2 separate regions of the Homo sapiens genome follow, and region 1 is linked to region 2. The links are contacts of gene promoters, found by promoter capture Hi-C in blood cells and fetal thymus (Javierre and others, 2016). All regions are on one chromosome and are shown on one strand. Each heading gives the region's core, a stretch centred on a gene start or on the middle of the fragment in contact. The rest is flanking DNA. Distances are from core to core; before and after follow the strand shown. Region 1 has its middle 22 kb from the start of MESD. Region 2 holds the start of ABHD17C (abhydrolase domain containing 17C, depalmitoylase).

Region 1 (2,700 bases), core at 121-2,620, 270 kb after region 2:
CACACATGTGCACACACACACAAACCAAGCTTCCACCCCTCCTGCTGTGCCACTGCCCCCAGCTTCCAGGCTGCCTCTGTGTCCACTCATGCCTGCTCAAATCTCAGCTTAGTGGCCACCTGCTCCAGGAAGCTTTTCTCTGGCCTCCCTTGGAAAATCCCTCTGTTGCAAGCTACAAGCACCTTGCATAGTTGCCACTGTACACTGTGGGTGTGTGTATTTGATTCAGGCCCTCTTCTTCCATACCCTGCTGCCTCTCTGCTCCACAACCTTTGCACCTCTTCTCTTCCTCCTGATTCTGCATCTCAAAAGCCCAAATAACTGGCTTGAAGTGGCCAACTCCTCCTTATTGGGCAGTTCCGCTGGTTAAATTCCTCTGGGAAATGCTGGCCCATTCCAACTGAGGCCCATCGAGGTGATGCGCTCAAGGCATTGATTTTAAAACTAGAAGTAGAAGCCCTTGGCCGGGCGCAGTGGCTCACTCCTGTAATCCTAGCACTTGGGAGGCTTAGGTGAGCAGATCACCTGAGGTCAGGAGTTCGAGACCAGCCTGACCAACATGAAGAAACCCCCGCCTCTACTAAAAATACAAAATTAGCTGGGCATGGTGGTGCATGCTTGTAATCCCAGCTACTTGGGAGGCTGAGGCAGGAGAATCACTTGAACCCGGGAGGTGGAGGTTGTGGTGAACCGAGATCACACCATTGCACTCCAGCCTGGGCAACAAGAGTGAAACTCCATCTCAAAAAAAGAAAAAGAAAAAAGAAAAGAAAAGAAGTAGGAGCCCTCAGGGAGTTTTAATTTAGAGCAAGGACCTCAGAGAATTTGTAAGGAAGCTTCTATCCTAAGGGAGTCAGGGACCTCCTTTGCATTAGAATAAGGATCCCTATTGTCTTGTTTCTTCCAGACCCTGGCATGTAAATCCCAGGCCTGGCAGGACTTGCCACCCTGTTTATAGAAGAGGTAAGGCCCAGGGAAAGCAAGTATGGCACTCAATGTCGTCCAACTTGGAGCTGAGGTAGGAGGCATGGATCAAAGGGGCCCCAGTGTTTCTAGGCCTATGGCTGAAGCTCTCTCCTGCAGGAAGAATGCGGGCTGGCCTGAAAAACAGATGCAAGGCAGACCAGATGTCCCTGGGCATTCTTCACATTCCACCAACTGCAGCCCTCCTTGGCTGAGAGCTGCCAAGTCTGGGCTTCCAATTCATCAGCTTGGAAACTTCACCTCAGAAACTTCGGCAGACTTCTCTGGAGAAAACAAAAATTGCCCTAGGTCTGCCAGGGAACAGTGGTCAAAGATTTAAAATTGCAAGTTGGGCTGCTGAGATCCAGAATTTGACAAGCCCAGGTTTAAGCTGATTCAACAAGATCTATGGAGAGTTGGCCAAGTGGCCCCAACTGCAGGCTCAGGTTTTCCCAGATGCTGGATCAAGTGGAAAGGGGTCCAACATCTCAAGTTTCTGGCTTGTGACACTTGCGTGGGACCTCCTGAAATCTGCCTACCAAAAATTTCCTTGTACCAGCAAGCAGCATGGTCAAACTGCAGTCTCCTGCAGACCGCTTGGACTCTGGCAGCTCTGCCCCTTTCAGGGCAAACCATCTCACCTGAGAGCAGGTCCTCAGCCATGCAGGTATCTGAGAGCAGAGCACCAAGGTGGTGGGAACGGCAGATGTTTCTGCCTGGAAGGAAGCTGACCCGCTCTGCTCTGGCATACCCTACACTGGGCAAGGTGGCCATTCTCCTTCTGGAGCAATCTCTGTGGCCCATGTAGAATTCCATCCCAGCCCCTCCCTTAGAGTGTCAAGCCACAGTGAAAACTGCAGTGCCTCCAGAAGAAAACAGCCCAGGCAGGATGTTATCCTGCCTTCTCCTAGCTGTGACTCTCAGCAAGGGGCTTAACCCCTACAAGCTTCTGTCTAGTCACCTGAAGCACAAAACACACACACAAATGATAATAGTTAACATGTACTGAAAGCTCTGTTGGCCAGGCACAGTGGCTCACACCTGTACTCCTTTGGAAGGCCAAGGTGGGAGGATCGCTTGAGCTCAGGAGTTTAAGACCAGCCAAGGTAAAATAGTGAGACCCCACCTCTTTACTTTAAAAATAAAATAAAAAAGAAAGCTGTGTTAAGTGCTTCACAGGGACTTGCTCATTTAATCCTTATAATACTTCTCTGAAATGGGAACTTTTATTAGCACCTACAGGCTTAGATGAGTGAGGTCCTTAAATAACTTGTCCAACATGATACAGCTAATAAAATGCAGAGCTGGGAAGTCCAACACCAGAACTGTGCTTCAAAGGGCCACATAGTAAATGTTAACTAATACCAACCTTGTGGGGTTGTGAAGGGTAAATGAGGTCGGGCACAGTGGTTCACACCTGTAATCCCAACACTTTGGGAGGTCAAGGTGGGAGGATTGCTTGAACCCAGGAGTTCAAGACCAGCCAGGGCAACATAGGGAGACCCTGTCTCTACAAAAAATATTAAAAAATTAGCTGGGTGTGATGGTGCACACCTGTGGTCCCAGCTACCCAGGAGATTGAGGTGGGAGGACCACTTGAGCCTGGAGGTCGAGGCTGCAGTGAGCTGCCATCGTGCCAGTGCACTCCAGCGTGAGCAACAGAGTGAGACCCTAACTGAAAATAAAATGAGAGTAAATGAAATAAAGTATGTAAAGACCTGCACACAGTGGGTAGCA
Region 2 (2,700 bases), core at 137-2,636:
AATTAAAAGCGAGGTCCTGAAGGTTAATGAAATCAGTATCGGCAATTCATTTAGATGACGGTGCTCAAAATATTCGTCCTGTGGAAAGTCACAACGAAAGGTAAAATTCTCAGGACATCTGTGAGTTAAAACAACAGACCCAGCGTAGGGATTGTGCCAACCTCCCAGTCTCTAGCTGCCCTGCTGGCAGTCCAGGAAGGGTATCTCCTGTCAGTTCCTGAAAGGGAATTCTTCAGCTGCCAAATCAGGCGGGAAAAAGGAAGTATAGAAGGCTCTGTGGAAACTGGCACCAGAGCACAGTTTCAAGGCACCGAGAGTTATATTTGAAAAATCATGTAAAGGTGGCTGCCAAGATTACAGTAGATTTAAAGCAGTATAAGAATCGTTCATGACTAAGACCACTGAAAAATCCTGGACCCAAAACAACTCTAGAGACACAAACACTGTAAACGATACCTAGTATATACTTACTACCGGAAAATCTGCCACACGTGGGATTAGAAATGACAACCTCAACATGGTTTGTTGCTAAATACAGTACCCTCCTGTTCTAACAGCTGACTTTTATAGATACAGAAATGTACTAAGGGTAAAACCATGCCCTTAGAAAGGAAACGCTGTTGCTACCTATACAGAAACAGCCTCTCCTAATAAGAAACACACTGATGACCACCCTATCCCACAACCCCGGTACCCCTTACGGTGCTGAGAACTTTTGGTACTGAGCCAGTTCAGAAAGCAGCACACACGAGAGCCAAATATTTCGGGCACATTCCAACTCTTGTCCACCCCTTAGTTTCCTTTTCAGTAGACTCCCAAGAACCTCCATCCACGGGAGAAACCTGGATTTGGGGGAGGGAATCCCAGGGGGAGGGGAGGGGAGCGGTCCACCCCGGGACACATGCACCCCCTCCAGGGTCCCCTCTGCAGATCGGCCCAGCTGTCCGGGCGCAGAGCCCCCAGCCCCGGCACCCAGCTTCTCCGGGCCCCGGAGCCGCCTGGAAGCCCCCGTCGGCCGCAGGTCGAGAAGGTGCTTCCCAGGCCGGGGAAGGTGCCCGCGCCCTTGCCCGCAGCGCCCCGCCCCGATGCCCGGCTCTGCGCCGCGTCCCAGCGGCGGCGCCGCCGCGCGGTAACCCGGAAGTGGCGGCGGCGGCGGCGGCGGCGGCGGGCGTGCGGGAGCGGGAACGGGAGCGGGGGGCGGCGCGCACGAGCCGGCCATGGACGCCGCCGCCGGCTTTGTGTGCCGCGCGCGGGCCCGGGCCGCCCGCGCCTCGCCTGGGTTCCGGGGCCGCCGCTGACCCGCCCGGGCTCCGAGCGCCGCGCCCGCCGGGCCGGCCCCGCCTCCTGCCCTCCTCCGCCTCCGCCTCCTCCTGCCGCCGGGCGGGCGGGCTGCAGCCGCCCTCCGCGCTCGCCTGCCAGCTCCCTCGCCGCGCGTCCGTCCTCCGTCCTCCCGGGCCAGCCAGCCAGCCAGCCAGCCGGGCCGGCGGCGGGCACCAGGCCGTCCCGATGCCCGAGCCAGGCCCCAGGATGAACGGCTTCTCGCTGGGTGAGCTGTGCTGGCTCTTCTGCTGCCCGCCCTGCCCGAGCCGCATCGCCGCCAAGCTGGCCTTCCTGCCGCCCGAGCCCACCTACACGGTGCTGGCGCCGGAGCAGCGCGGCGCCGGCGCGTCCGCCCCGGCCCCGGCCCAGGCTACCGCCGCCGCCGCCGCGGCCCAGCCGGCACCGCAGCAGCCCGAGGAGGGCGCGGGCGCGGGGCCCGGTGCGTGCAGCCTGCACCTCAGCGAGCGCGCCGACTGGCAGTACTCGCAGCGCGAGCTGGACGCCGTCGAGGTCTTCTTCTCGCGCACGGCCCGGGACAACCGGCTCGGCTGCATGTTCGTGCGCTGCGCGCCCTCCAGCCGCTACACGCTGCTCTTCTCGCACGGCAACGCCGTGGACCTGGGCCAGATGTGCAGCTTCTACATTGGCCTCGGCTCCCGCATCAACTGCAACATCTTCTCCTACGACTACTCGGGATACGGCGTCAGCTCGGGCAAGCCCTCCGAGAAGAACCTCTACGCCGACATCGACGCCGCGTGGCAGGCGCTGCGCACCCGGTGAGCCTGCCGGGGTCGCCAGGCCTGACTTCCAGCTGTGGGGAGGCGGGGTGGGGGTCTCTTGGGGCCCCTGGGGCGGCCTGCCAGGAGAGGGGCCCCTCCTCCGGGGCTGAGGGCCAGCGGAGAGCCCCTTGGCCGCCGTAAATTCGCTTTTCTTGTCCCACCCTGGCTTGCTCCCACCCTCTCCAAAAACCGCGCCAGCCTTCAGGTTCCTGGAGAGCTCGGACTCAGAGAATTTTGCCTGCTTTGGCTCGCCTGTGTGTCGCCGGCCCACCGGCTGGGTCTTTTGTGGCTCCGGTCACCGCGAGTGGCAGAGTGTGGGTGCTTAAGTACCGGGCAGAAAGAAACAACTTGGTTCGAGTTTCGTTTGTACGAGCTGAAGTGACCTTGGGCAAGGCACATGGGTTTCTAGACTCAGTTTCCTTCCCTGTAAAGTCAGTGGGCGAGACAGGATGGCCTCTAAAAGACTTTCTGGTTGTAAAGTGCGGGCAGGACAATGTCTGGGCAACCTTGGAAACAGCTGGAGCGTCAGGTGGAGCGGGGAGTTTGCCTCCTGGTGGGGCAAAGTAGTGGCACTGTGGGGCAGGAAGTTAGCTGGTAGCTG

What was found. The method cuts DNA at HindIII sites, captures the fragments that hold promoters and counts their contacts. A CHiCAGO score of 5 or more calls a contact.
Region 1: a fragment that was not itself captured here is called in contact with the fragment with the promoter of ABHD17C in region 2 in 2 of 17 cell types (M1 macrophages and M0 macrophages); the score reaches 6.9 in M1 macrophages.

Annotation. Positions count from the first base shown.
Region 1 is chr15:80,966,549-80,969,248 of GRCh38, forward strand. It overlaps a transcript of MESD not described here. Among named protein-coding and RNA genes, the nearest start is that of MESD, 22 kb to the right of the region's middle. RefSeq lists an enhancer at 54-569. The HindIII fragment of the contact is 1,073 bases long and covers 835-1,907 here.
Region 2 is chr15:80,693,924-80,696,623 of GRCh38, forward strand. It overlaps ABHD17C (abhydrolase domain containing 17C, depalmitoylase), which reads left to right and starts at 1,387. Exons shown (of 3, transcript NM_021214.2): 1 at 1,387-2,096. The coding sequence starts at 1,507. RefSeq lists silencers at 105-399, 861-1,020, 1,041-1,150, 1,171-1,590, 1,681-1,730 and 1 more and an enhancer at 1,921-1,990. The HindIII fragment of the contact is 4,321 bases long and covers 1-2,700 here.